3 separate regions of the Homo sapiens genome follow, and regions 2 and 3 are each linked to region 1. The links are contacts of gene promoters, found by promoter capture Hi-C in blood cells and fetal thymus (Javierre and others, 2016). All regions are on one chromosome and are shown on one strand. Each heading gives the region's core, a stretch centred on a gene start or on the middle of the fragment in contact. The rest is flanking DNA. Distances are from core to core; before and after follow the strand shown. Region 1 holds the start of LRRC27 (leucine rich repeat containing 27). Region 2 overlaps JAKMIP3 (Janus kinase and microtubule interacting protein 3). Region 3 overlaps JAKMIP3 (Janus kinase and microtubule interacting protein 3).

The links. The method cuts DNA at HindIII sites, captures the fragments that hold promoters and counts their contacts. A CHiCAGO score of 5 or more calls a contact.
Region 2: a contact is called between a fragment that was not itself captured here and the fragment with the promoter of LRRC27 in region 1, in 2 of 17 cell types (naive CD8 T cells and naive CD4 T cells). The highest score is 6.6, in naive CD8 T cells.
Region 3: a contact is called between a fragment that was not itself captured here and the fragment with the promoter of LRRC27 in region 1, in 2 of 17 cell types (non-activated CD4 T cells and naive CD4 T cells). The highest score is 5.4, in non-activated CD4 T cells.

What each region holds. Positions count from the first base shown.
Region 1 is chr10:132,330,213-132,334,688 of GRCh38, forward strand. LRRC27 (leucine rich repeat containing 27) reads left to right here and starts at 1,981. Exons shown (of 11, transcript NM_030626.3): 1 at 1,981-2,044; 2 at 3,265-3,522. The coding sequence starts at 3,313. It also overlaps a transcript of STK32C not described here. RefSeq lists an enhancer at 1,264-1,798 and a silencer at 1,683-1,802. The HindIII fragment of the contact is 6,954 bases long and covers 1-3,987 here.
Region 2 is chr10:132,157,166-132,161,641 of GRCh38, forward strand. The region is part of intron 19 of JAKMIP3 (Janus kinase and microtubule interacting protein 3); the gene reads left to right. Among named protein-coding and RNA genes, the nearest start is that of JAKMIP3-AS1, 27 kb to the right of the region's middle. The HindIII fragment of the contact is 6,467 bases long and covers 1-4,476 here.
Region 3 is chr10:132,182,009-132,186,484 of GRCh38, forward strand. It overlaps JAKMIP3 (Janus kinase and microtubule interacting protein 3), which reads left to right. Exons shown (of 24, transcript NM_001323087.2): 24 at 349-2,850. It overlaps JAKMIP3-AS1 (JAKMIP3 antisense RNA 1), which reads right to left. Exons shown (of 4, transcript NR_184044.1): 1 at 2,957-4,476; 2 at 2,189-2,314. Among named protein-coding and RNA genes, the nearest start is that of JAKMIP3-AS1, 2.5 kb to the right of the region's middle. The HindIII fragment of the contact is 1,394 bases long and covers 2,517-3,910 here.

The DNA.
Region 1 (4,476 bases), core at 731-3,230:
ACAAAAATTAATGTAGCATGAAAAATGTGAAACAAAAACCTGAGGCAACAATAACAAGCAAGAGGGAATACGCTCAAATGGTTAGTAAATGTTTTATTTGTGAAAAGAGATACTGGAATGCTGAAACTTGTTAGAAATAGCATCGTGCTGAAATCTTCCATCCCCTTCGCCACTCACGGCAACACCCATGTCACTCCTCATTCTCTCCTTGCTCTGCCCGGGTGGCTGGCCTCCCCACGCTCCTGAGAAGGTACTGGTTGTGCTTTCAGCTTCCTGATTGGTAGATAGTTGGGTATGTACGAAAACTTTTTTTTTGAGACAGGGTCTCGCTGTCACCGAAGCTGACATTAAGTGGCACAATCATAACTCACTGCAGCCTCAAAATCCTAGGTTCAAGCGATCCTCTTGCCTCACCCTCCCACACAGCTGGAACTACAGGTGTGTGCCACCACACCCAGCATTTTTTTTTTTTTTTTTTTTTAATTTTTGTAGAGACTGGGTTGCCCAGGCTGGTCTCCAACTCCTGGCCTCAAGCGATCTTCCCACCCTGGCCTCCCAAAGTGCTAGGGTTACAGGCGTGAGCCATCGTGTCCGGCCTAAAAAACATTTCTTACTGTGATCTCTTCACAAAAATAAAACGTAAATCCCCTCAAAGTGGATAGTCGTTTCTCCACATAATTATGTCGTTTCCTTTAAAAAGTGGAATCAGGCCGGGCACGGTGGCTCATGCCTGTAATCCCAGCACTTTGGGAGGCCGAGGGGGGCGGATCATGAGGTCAGGAGATCGAGACCAGCCTGGCCAACATGATGAAACCCCGTCTCTACTAAAAATACAAAAATTAGCTGGACGTGGTGGCGCGCGCCTGTAGTCCCAGCTACTGGGGAGGCTGAGGCAGGAGAATTGCTTGAACCTGGGAGGCGGAGGTCGCAGTGGGCCGAGATCGCGCTACTGCACTCCAGCCTGGGAGACAAAGCAAGACTCCACCTCAAAAAAAAAAAAAAAAAAAAAAAAGTGAAATCATGGCAGACTCCAGCTAAACTGTCCGGGTTTCCAGAGTGTTTCTGGGTGGGACAGAGGGTGCTACTTTTCATTATCAGTTGGATCCTGGAATGAAGGTGCACGGGACTCCAGGGTTCCACAGGACCACGCGAGCACCTCCCCTCCCGCCCGGTGTCATTTCATCTTCTTCCAAATTCTCAAAACCCTTCCTCAGGACACTCACTGCGTTTCCTCGCCCCCCTCACTCCTCCGTCCAGAGGCAGCCTTACTTCTCCAAAGAGGACGCTCTGAGTCTGCGTTCCCCTGGCAGCAAGTCCTGAGGCAAGATTTGGGGACAAGCAGCTCCTGTGGGAAGTGGCTCCAGGAAGCCCCAGGAGAGACGCGGGGAGTGAGCCCAGCGGGAAGGACAGGCAGCGAGGACCGCTCCAAAGGTGGTGCCTCAGCAGCAATTCTTTTCTGCTCGGCTGTCCTCGAGCAGCCCCGCCCGCCCCGGGCCCTCCGGCTCCCCAGACGGCACTTAGCATCCCGCTCTCTTCCTTCCCCTCTGTGCCAGGCCGGTCGCCCCTCCAGACCCTCGCGGTCTCTACTTGCCCGTCGACCACCACCCCTTCAAGGCCGCGGGCGCGGAAAAACGGATGCTACCGTTGGCCGCGTGCGTGCGCAGGCGCACCACCCCCTGCCACCCCCGCGCAGGCGCACCACAACCCCCCCACCGCAAGCGCAACCCCCCGCCCCAGCGCAGGCGCACCACACCCCGCCCCCTCCCGGGCAGGCGCACCACACCCGACCCCCTGCCGCGCAGGGGCACCCACACCCCGCCCCCGCACGCAGGCACAAACCCCCACAACACGCACACCCCCGCGCGCAGGCGCACCACACCCCTCGCGCAGGCGCATCACAGACACACTCGCGCTCAGCGTGGCGCCTGCGGGATTCCGTACCGGCGTCTCCATGGCGACCGCGTTGGCTGGGTGGCCTCCATTGTCGGGCTGCTGCTCTCAGCGGCGGGGCTCGCCAGCGCTTCAGTGGGCGGGGACGCGGCAGGTGAGACGGGGCGGGTACGGCCAGCTCGCTGAGCCCTCGAGGCGGGCGGCGGCAGGAAGGTGGTGCCTCGGCCCGTCGTGCCCTGTCGCCTAGCTCCAGCCGCGATGCTGACCGCAAAGGCTGCCCTTCTGAGGCCTGGAATGTGAGGCCCAGAGCGTCGGACCCAACTCAGCCTCGCCCGGATGGGGAAATCGAGGCAGGGAGCGGGGGTGGGCGTGCGTGGGGATCCCTTGAAGGCAGCCTCGGAAACCCCACGGAGCCTGCGCTGCCTGGGCCCTGTGTGAGTCCAGGCTGTTGTTTCACTTCTGGTTTTAAGATACTTTCCCTGTTCTGAGGTTTGAAGCCTCCCCTCCTCTGTTTTAAGTTCCGTGATTCGGAGAAAACAAGTGAACTGACCGTGAAAAAGCCCGCGGGCTTCCATGGAATGCAGGCTGCCTGGGGTTGAACCCTGCTGGGTCCCGGTGTCGCCTCTACCCCCCAATTAACTGCGCCCCTGGAACAGTTCCCTAACTGATCTGCGCCTCATATGCCAATCATTGGGCTGTTGAGTGACTTGAATTAGGTGAACTGATGCATTCCAACGTTGATTCTTATTGCCGAATAAATTGTTTGGAAATTGCAAGTGGAAGTGTGCCTCGCTGAATGAGATTTTGGTGAACAATACTTCTGAGTAAAAGTGTTGCTGGACAACGAAAATTCGAGATTAATTTAACAGGTTTTTCCCCGGTGCTTAACTGGGTGTAAGCCAGACTTAGTTCTGGTCACTGGGTCAAAATGGTAAACAAAAGACAGGCTTCCTGGCCTCAAGAAACTAAAAACATAGTTCAAATGGCACAGAACCACACCAGAGGTAAGAAACAGTGCAAATTTCCACCCGCCCCTAGTCATTTCATGGAAGCGTTGCAGTTGATTTACAGGCTTTGAAATGTTCCGATCTGTTTACATCCCTAAAATGATCATTACTATTGTGCGCCTTTGCGTTTTCCAGGAGTTAAATCTTGGAACTCCATTGTACAAAGTGAGAGCAGAGAATTTTAATCTGAACCTCTTTGTATTCCTTTTTTTTTTTTTTACATGTTTAAAAGTCAAATTTTTGCTACTGCTTAGGAAAAATGATAGCTTTTAAAGCAAGTTACATTACAGTAGATCTGCCACACAGCTATTCTGTTTTGCCTCGGTATAATTAGTTGCTTCTACGTTTCCCTTTCCCGTGTCTCCAGGTGACTCCAGACCAAGGAGGATGAGCTGCTGTCCCTGGAAGAGAACGGATGGAGGGAAGCAGCTCCTACGAAGTTCCCTCTGTGGCTGCTGCTGATCTGGAGGAGGGTGCTGGTCAGACTAGGAGCTTGCCTGCCACCCCCTCCAAAGATGTTCACAAGGGTGTTGGAGGCATCATCTTTTCCTCCTCACCGATTTTAGACTTGAGTGAAAGTGGTCTGTGCCGTTTGGAGGAGGTCTTTAGAATCCCCAGCCTTCAAGTAAGTGGGGCTGCTCCTCAGGCTGTGTGCCCACAGGTCCCCTATAGACAGAAATGGGAATGTACCCCTGGGCTTTATTTGTAGGCTTCTTTCTCTTTGGAATTGATGAATTCTAAAATTAAATAGAGGAAAGGTTAACTCATAGTTTCATACGCCAATCACAACAAAATGGGAAATTCATGATGGGGACCAACCAATGGAAATAGTACATCTATTTAGATGAAGGTGTCTGTTCTCTTCCTTGCAGTTCATCTCTCAAAACCTGTGGTAGAAACTACTGCCAAACACGCTTGGTCTCTTAATTAAAACACAAAACCTTAAAGAAAATCAGGCAACATGAGCAGTTAAAAACTTTGTTCTCACCCATGATTTTGCTCATGTTACACACTGGTTTTACTTTGTGCCCGGCCCTTCTCCGGGTCAGTCCGCAGTAGATGCTGTCTTGTCCATGTGATTTCTAGAGAAAGCTTCTGTGAGGGCACAGGTTTGATGTTAGACAGTTGAGGGTTCCCCCTGCAGCACTTGTCCCTGCTGGGACTCACAGAATTTCCTTAAACCTCATTTGGTTTAATCTGGAATGTCGGAATGATCATGTTTTCACATCATTTATTGTGAAAATGAATAATGTGAAAGTTCAGTGTCTGGAACATAGTTATGATATTGATTGACTTTCTTTTTGTATTTTTAGTAGAGATGGGGTTTCACCATGTTGCCCAGGCTGATCTTGAATGCCTGAGATCAGGTGATCTGCCTGTCTCAGCTTCCCAAAGTGCTGGAATTACAGGTGTAAGCCACCGCACCTGGCCAGATTGACATTTTTGAGTGCTTCTACAAGAGCTACATATTTAGATTTTTAGTGGCTGCTTAAGTTATAAACTCTACATTTGCATTGTCTTTGCTGTCACGGCAGCGCTGGTCTTGCTCTTTCTTTCCTTCATGCTGACATCTAGGGTG
Region 2 (4,476 bases), core at 1,054-3,553, 170 kb before region 1:
CAGATGCCACCAACAAAGGGGACCCCACTTGCTGGTTCTCTTCTCCTTCTCTGAAGTGCGGGGTGTAACCACATGTGTGCGCACGTGCATTTTCATGGATAGCCTGAGAAACCCACCAGCTGCAGCATGCTTCCCTTTCACCTGACTGTGCACAGCCAGGGCGCTTCCCACCAGCCCAAGGAGTGACTTGGTGTGAGCGCATCATGGACTGTTCATCCCCAGTAGTGGACTTAGGTACTGTCCATGCATTAGCTATCACCAGCAAAACAGCAATTCCTATCCATTTCTGACGTCCCGACACACAAATGGAGATTATCTGCAGGAAAAGTTATTTGGAATGACCAAAGGGTATGCACACTTAAGGTGTTGTTAGGAACTGCCGAATATTTCTCCCCATAGTAGGTATAACTTGCAGCCCAAACTTCCACTGCATGATATGCAGCCGCCTGGTGCAGTCCTAGCAGGCATGTCTCTGGTGAGCTCAAAGTCTAACATGTTTCTATGCAACTCCACGCCACGTCTGTTTGTAACCTTTCCCACCTCTCTCATGCTATCTGACATTTTGGTCAGAGCTCTTGATAAAAGAAGGCAACCAGCCCTTTGCCATCCATTGCAAATATTTCCTTTATTTCCTTAGTCAGAAGAATGGGACATGGCAAATATTTCACCCAGCTTGTTGTTGCTCTTTGATATCAAACACTGTTTTGAGGGCCTGGCAGAATTTGGGTAATTTTTACGAGGTTGATGGCCTCCAGGTTTTATGGCATAATTTCAACTTCGTACAGAAAAAAAAAAGAGATTGTACAAAAAAATTCCAGTGTTTTCTTTCAGCATTACTTTGAGGTGTGTGTGAGGCAGGTGTAAAGAGGAAATGGAAATTTATGCACCTCCAGGATGGCTGCCCACCGCCCCCCCGCCCCGCCCCGCCCCGCCCCGCCCCCGGCAGCATCTGTCTACTCAGCCATCCACCTTTTCCACCCTAACGTCACAGATAATTCCCCTTTGTAAGATTGTGTCTGGAGTGATGCCTCAGTCCCAGAATCCCTCCACTGGGTCGGGAGAGTTGTCCCATGAGTGGAGAAGTGGCCTATGGGCCCCCTTGACCTGACCAGAATGCAGGATCTGAGCATAGAGAGCTCCAGGAGTGGGGGCCCTGGCCCAGAGCAACTGCCACCATGGTCCTTGTGATCAAACATCCCATGGACACCCCATGGGATTAGAGATGTAGGTCTCCACACACATTTCCAGAAGATCAAAGCCCAGCTTCAGCTTTCTGTGAGGCCACCTCTCTCTGCCACCTCCACAGTAGCTGTGTTCTCAGACCTCAGATGGGGCCAACTGCTCAGGGGATCATTCAGCCCCAAAGACCAGTGGGGAGGCACATGGTTGCTGGTTGGGCCAGGATTAATGGCCCCTACTCTGGAGGGGACTGGGGGCATCCTCCTGTGAGATGCTGTGGGAGGAGCATCTTCCTGTGAGATGCTGTGGGAGGGGCATCTTCCTGTGTGATGCTGTGGGAGGGGCATCTTCCTGTGTGATGCTGTGGGAGGGGCATCTTCCTGTGTGATGCTGTGGGAGGGGCATCTTCCTGTGTGATGCTGTGGGAGGGGCATCTTCCTGTGTGATGCTGTGGGAGGGGCATCTTCCTGTGTGATGCTGTGGGAGGGGCATCTTCCTGTGTGATGCTGTGGGAGGGGCATCTTCCTGTGTGATGCTGTGGGAGGGGCATCTTCCTGTGTGATGCTGTGGGAGGGGCATCTTCCTTTGTGATGCTGGGGGGGGGGACCTCTCGCTGTGTGATGCTGGGGGGGATCTCTCGCTGTGTGATGCTGGGGGGGGGCCTCTCCCTGTGTGATGCTGGGGGGGGTCTCTTCCTGTGTGATGTCAGAGGGCCCTCTCCCTGTGTGACGCTGGGGTTGTGTCTTCCCGTGTGATTCTGGGGGCGTCTCTCCCCGTGTGATTCTGGGGGCGTCTCTCCTTGTGTGATGTTGTGGGGGTATCTCTTCCTGTGTGATGTTGTGGGGGCATCTCTCCCTGTGTGATGCTGTGGGGGCATCTCTCCCTGTGTGATGCTGGGGGGGCCTCTCCCTGTGTGATGTCGGGGGCACCTCTTCCTCTGTGATGCTGGGGGCGCCTCTCCCTGTGTGATGCTGAGGGCGCCTCTCCCTGTGTGATGCTGAGGGGGCCTCTCCCTGTGTGATGCTGGTTGGGGGGGGTCTATTCCTGTGTCTTACTGAGGGGGCCTATTCCTGTGGATGCCGGGGGTGTGTTTTTTCTGCGTGATGCTGGGTGGGGGGGCTCTCTTCCTGTGTAATGCTGGAGGAGGCTCTCCCTGTGTGATGCTGGGGGTGTGTCTTCCTGTGTGATGCTGGGAGGGTCTCTCCCTGTGTGATGCTGGGGGGGCGTGTCTCCCTGTGTGATGCTGGGGGCATGTCTTCCTATGTGATGCTGGGGGTCCTCTTCCTTTGTGATGCTGGGGGGCCTCTCCCTGTGTGATGCTGGGGGGTCCTCTCCCTATGTGATGCTCAGGGGGCCTCTCCCTGTGTGATGCTGGGGGCATGTCTTCCTGTGTGATACTGGGGGGGCCTCTTCCTGTGTGATACTGGGGGGTCTCTTCCTGTGTGATGCTGGGGGGCCTCTCGCTGTGTGATGCTGGGGGGCCTCTCCCTGTGTGATGCTGGGGGGCCTCTCCCTGTGTGATGCTGGGGGGGTCTCTTCCTGTGTGATGCTGGGGGGTCTCTTCCTGTGTGATGCTGGGGGGGGGTCTCCCTGTGTGATGCTGGGGGGGCCTCTTCCTGTGTGATGCTGGTGGGGGTCTACTTCTATGTCTTACTGGGGGGGGCCTCTCCCTGTGTGATGCTGGGGAGCCTCTTCCTGTGTGATGCAGGCGGTGGCCTCTTCCTGTGTGATGCTGGGGGGGTCTCTTCCTGTGTGATGCAGGCGGTGGCCTCTTCCTGTGTGATGCTGGGGGGGGTCTCTTCCTGTGTGATGCTAGGGGGTCTCTTCCTGTGTGATGCTGGGTGGGCCTCTCCCTGTGTGATGCTGGGTGGGCCTCTCCCTGTGTGATGCTGGGGGGGGCCTCTCACTGTGTGATGCTGGGGGGGCCTCTTCCTGTGTGATGCTGGGGGGGGTCTATTCCTGTGTCTTATTGAGGGGGCCTCTCCCTGTGTGATGCTGGGGAGCCTCTTCCTGTGTGATGCTGGGGGGGGTCTATTCCTGTGTCTTATTGAGGGGGCCTCTCCCTGTGTGATGCTGGGGAGCCTCTTCCTGTGTGATGCTGGGGGGGTCTCTTCCTGTGTGATGCTGGGGGACCTCTCCCTGTGTGATGCTGGGGGGGCCTCTCCCTGTGTGATGCTGGGGGGGCCTCTCCCTGTGTGATGCTGGGGGGGTCTCTTCCTGTGTGATGCTGGGGGGTCTCTTCCTGTGTGATGCTGGGGGGGGGGTCTCCCTGTGTGATGCTGGGGGGGGCCTCTTCCTGTGTGATGCTGGTGGGGGTCTACTTCTATGTCTTACTGGGGGGGGCCTCTCCCTGTGTGATGCTGGGGGGGCCTCTCCCTGTGTGATGCTGGGGGGGTCTCTTCCTGTGTGATGCTGGGGGGTCTCTTCCTGTGTGATGCTGGGGGGGGGGTCTCCCTGTGTGATGCTGGGGGGGGCCTCTTCCTGTGTGATGCTGGTGGGGGTCTACTTCTATGTCTTACTGGGGGGGGCCTCTCCCTGTGTGATGCAGGCGGTGGCCTCTTCCTGTGTGATGCTAGGGGGTCTCTTCCTGTGTGATGCTGGGTGGGCCTCTCCCTGTGTGATGCTGGGTGGGCCTCTCCCTGTGTGATGCTGGGGGGGGCCTCTCACTGTGTGATGCTGGGGGGGCCTCTTCCTGTGTGATGCTGGGGGCGTGTCTTTCTGTGTGATGCTGGGGGGGCCTCTTCCTGTGTGATGCTGGGGGGGGTCTATTCCTGTGTCTTATTGAGGGGGCCTCTCCCTGTGTGATGCTGGGGAGCCTCTTCCTGTGTGATGCTGGGGGGTCTCTTCCTGTGTGATGCTGGGGGACCTCTCCCTGTGTGATGCTGGGGGGGCCTCTCCCTGTGTGATGCTGGGGGGGCCTCTCCCTGTGTGATGCTGGGGTGGTCTCTCCCTGTGTGATGCTGGGGTGGTCTCTCCCTGTGTGATGTTGGGGGGGCGGTCTCCCTGTGTGATGCTGGGGGGGCCTCTTCCTGTGTGATGCTGGGGGGGGTCTATTCCTGTGTCTTACTGGGGGGGGCCTCTCCCTGTGTGATGCTGGGGAGCCTCTTCCTGTGTGATGCAGGCGGTGGCCTCTTCCTGTGTGATGCTGGGGGGGTCTCTTCCTGTGTGATGCTGGGGGGCCTCTCCCTGTGTGATGCTGGGGGGGGTCTCTCCCTGTGTGATGCTGGGGGGTATCTCTCCCTGTGTGATGCTGGGGGGTGTCTCTCCCTGTGTGATGCTGGGGGGTGTCTCTCCCTG
Region 3 (4,476 bases), core at 1,964-4,463, 150 kb before region 1:
TTTCTAAGCAATGAGGGAAGTTGGGTAGAAACCGGGCTGCTGGCCCAGACATGGTGAGAAAGATCCAAGGTCACTTCTGTAGGGGCTTTGTGAGGAGCATGGACTCATCTTCCTGAGAGTGTGGCCTTCGGTGGGTGCCAGGTGCGTCTCCCGGGCTGGAGGCTCAGGACGTGGCGCTGTAGCTGGTGCTGGACCCATGAGGGCAGTGCCTGCCATTGGCTCAGTGACCATCCTGTGCAGAGCCAGTGCCTGGTCAAGGCCCCAACTGCCTTGAGTGCTGACCTGTGGTGGGTCACACACATTCCCCAGGTCGTCGCACTAAACGGCGTTTTCTCCACTCTTTTTCAGAGAGGAAGCAGTGCATTGGTGAAGGCAACGTTAGGTGTGATTTCCATTCCTGCTGGGAGACCCGGGACGCAGCCCGGGAGCTTCGTCCAGCCTGTGGATGGAGCCTGACTGGCTGCAGATGGAACTTCTGTGTCCTCCCACCCTAGGTGGGCTAAGGTTCTGCTCTCAGAGCTGAATTGACAGGAGGTGTGTGTGTGTGCTCACTTGTGTGCACAAGCATGCGTTTATGCATGTTTTCACGCAACCAGAAGAGCCATTCGTGGGATTTAGCCATTTCGAGGCACCTAGAAGTTGAGGCAGCCAGCTGTGCAGCCAGGTGTGACTGTTACTGGCAGCATTGTATAAAAGACACGACTCAGCTGCCGTAGGGAGGACTGGGTTGTCTGGAAGTATTAGGCTCATTTTATATTTGTGTCAGAAGAAATGTCTGACTTTGGGGCAGATGACACGGTGGCTGCGGACCAGGCATGGCTCCCTAGGTTGAAATCAGGGAAAAGCTAATAGTATCAGACAGATATGCTTTTTCTTTGGTGGCTGCAGGATTTTTGCTGGAAAATGCACTATTAATCAGCACTTGTCCAAGAAAGACCCATCCATTTCTGTTGTCATTCAAGCCACAGTTCCTGATTTACTCGGCAAGATACTGGGCCAGTTCAGTGTCTCTAGCTGAGCCTGACCTCGGGGTTTGCGTCTCGAGTCTGAAATCCTGTTTAGTCCTCTGTGCATAGTTTTGTCTCATTTTAACGACTGCATCTTCTTGGCACATTTATTATACTCACAACTGAATGGCACACAATAGCCTTGTGTTAATAAAAGCTACCGTGGCGCTGTGGGTGAACCGCTGGGTTGAAGTCCGATGGACTCTACGATGCAGGCATCCAGAAATATGTTGTAACTCTACCTGGCTCCCTGCCAGCCTGGCCTCCTCCTCTGGGAGAGCTCCTGGCATGGTCCCAATGTGTACCTGCATGGGAACAACAGCTGCATGGGCCAGCTGTTTCGGATCTAAAGATGTGCAGTGAAACTCACATTCCCAGATTCACATCCCTCATGTTTATTTGGGTCATCATGGTTTAGCATGTTGTATATATGTCTGGAGCACTTCATACACCTCTATCCACCACAGACACTCTTAATCACAGTTCTGTAATAATAATAAGGCAAACTATACGGCAAAGAGAAGCATGTAAATATGTACCAAATCCTTATGAAGTTGTAATTGTTTATATGTAAAAAGTATGTATATAGGAACGGGAGAAGGTGCAAGGAATGTGCTGAATAACATCCAAACTGCATCGCGTCTCTGCCCCATTCCTGAAAGCACACATCTAGTTGGAGCGTCAGTTCCTCTCCTTAGATATCATTGTTTTCACTCGTCTATCATAGGCACCTTCTTTACATCTGATTACAATACCCAGCATTTCAGAACTGGGTTTTTGCCCCCAAAAAGGTAAATATGAGCATTTATCACTGACTCCTCCTGGTCCAGTGAGCAGCAGCAGAATTCAAGTATTTAAAAATAAGGTGCATTTCTAAATTGCAGGCTATACCTTCTTTTCCAAACCAATGGGCTAGAGTGAATTTCCTCCAAGTACTTGGGCTGTCTTACTGCTAGCTCTTCTAACAGGGGAAGTCTGTATGAATGCATCACCCCCTAATAAGGCAAGAGGAAGGACCCTGAAATGTTGCCAGAAATGTACTGTTACATCAACATTTACATTATATTAACATCATCACACTCTGTGTTCAACACACAGAACAACATAGATACTTTAGTTTGTCTAAAGTAAAAATCCACATAAATAGCAGATTCCTTTGTTGACACCAGTGTGTTGTTTACCTTGTGCCCATGGTCCAGATTTTGAGCTGGAGAAGGACTATGGCTGTTCCTTAAAGTCTCTGCCCTTGCAGAATCTGTAGCCTTCAGGATACCCCGAGTGCCTTACAGGGCTTGTGAACACCGATACTAGAAGTCAAAAAGAAGAGAGTGCCCAAGTGTGGGTTTGGAGGCACTGACGCATTCGCCAACTCACCGTCATCCCATCCTTGAAACCCTGAGAGAGAGTGTGTGTTTTATCACAGTAATGGAATTCAGTTTAGCCTCAGGAAACTCATATTGTGAATATAGGTATCAAATCATATATTTGTTTACTGTATATTTTTTAAAAAGCTTTATTGTAAATTTATGCAAAAACTAACCGGGCCTGTTTTCTTACGGCGGCATGCCAGGTAGTGTGTGTATTCTCCCAGGCACTCCCTTCATAGTCACCCTCTAACCACGTGACATTCCGTTCCATGCTAAGCAGTATTCACAGGCCTAAAATAGGTTTGTATGGTGATCTACAAGATTTTACAAATATTTTTGTATTGTGATTCCTATGATATATACCAGAGAATTTTTTACTCGTTTGTAAATTATTGTACAGTTTTAATAAAAAATGTTTTAAATCTTAGACGATTAAAGTCCCCTCAAAGGTATTAAAGTTTGAACTGAAAGCCGTATGAGCCATTTCTGCACTTCTGAGTTCATTCTCTGAACAGTGCCTCTGCACACCAGAAACGGAGTCCGCGCCTTCCGCCCACTGTGGAGGAAAGCCCCAGTTCTCACCTGCGAGATCACCTGGAGGGCAAGCTCTGCAGTCGGGTGCCTGGCAGCACCTGGCTCCGGTCGACCACCTGGGAGGCTCCCTCCTGTGGCTGTTGGTCAAATGTGAACCATGGAAGAGATCAGACAGTTAGGAAAGGGACGGAACTTCTGCACGTGCATAAGAACAGTTGGTGATATTTGCCGTGGACGGTCCCACACAGGTGAGTAACAGACATTGCATTAATCATTTAGGGGAGGGGGAGCCCAGAGGAGGACGAAGGGGTGGGAAGCTGCTGGACCTAGCTCTGCTGGCTCGGGCCCCGCCAGTACTCGAGGTCATGGTGACTCAGTGGCCAAACTCTGGCTTTGAAATGCGGACTGCGGTAACAACGCAAAGGCCTGAAGTCTCTGGGTTCGAATTCAGCTGCTGCAGGCTGGGTAGAATGACAGATGGAGTGACAGCATCGCCCGTCACTCCTGTCTCGCCCCAAGCCTCTAACTCGGCTTTAAGGGAGATCAGCAGCAGTTTGCGTGGGCGGGTACACCCCACCCCCGCGCGCCCTCCACACTCGCCCAGGGTTTCGGAGTCAGGGCTTTCTTGTCTGGCGTGGGACGGCCCAAGGGGCCTGGAAATGTGGCCGGGATTCCCACAGCGGTTTCTCCGGTGCGCGCTCCCCGCCCGGCCTTCCCAGCGCCCAGTGTGTCCCGAGGGCGAGCAGCCACGCGTGGCCGGGACTAAGCGAGCACCCAGGGGCCAGAATGGGGCGTTCAGCACCCGCTACGTGGACAGAGCCAGCTCCGCGCAGCGCTGCCGGGCGGCAGGAGGCGGGGGGGGAGGGCGCGGCCTCCAGGTCCGCCCAGTGCACCTGCCGCGCAGACCTCGCTACAGGAGGCTCCGAGACCGGATTCTGTCGCCCGCTCCTGCCGTGACCGCGCGGCAGCCTCAGGAGCCCGCGAGGCCTCTGGCCCGGCCCAAGCTTGGCTGCGTGTTCCGCTGCGTGGAGGACGCCTTCGAGAGCAAGACGCTGCCGCTGGACGCTCTGGGCGGCGGCCGCCCGGGCCCTCGGGTTGGGAGGCGAGTCTGCGCGGCGCGCGGAGACCCCTCAACGGCCGCAGCAAGTCCCCGAGGGCAGCCCGGCGTGGCCCAGGCCCGGGACCCCCAGCAGGTAGTGGCCGCGGGACAGAGGCCGTGGGCCCGGGCTCGGACTCCCCGAGACCCTCGCACCCGGAGGACGCCGGGCGTGGGGCTCCCCCGCTCCCCCCTGCGGGGTCCTCCCTATCCGTAAAGGTCCTGAGCCTTCTGGGTCCTGCGACCACCCCCCACCCCCGCGAGGTCCCGCCCACCACCGCGTCCCGGTCCCTGGGGAGCGCGTGCGCCTCCTTCTGTCTCTCTCTCTCTCTCTCTCTGTCCTATTCGGGCCCCTCCTGCCCTCCGTCTCTCGCGGCCAGCGTGGAACAGCCTCGCGGGGTCACAGCCTGGCGCTCGGACCCTGGCCCGGGTCATCTGCGAAGGAGCCGGCTTTGGCCAAGGTGCCTTCCTG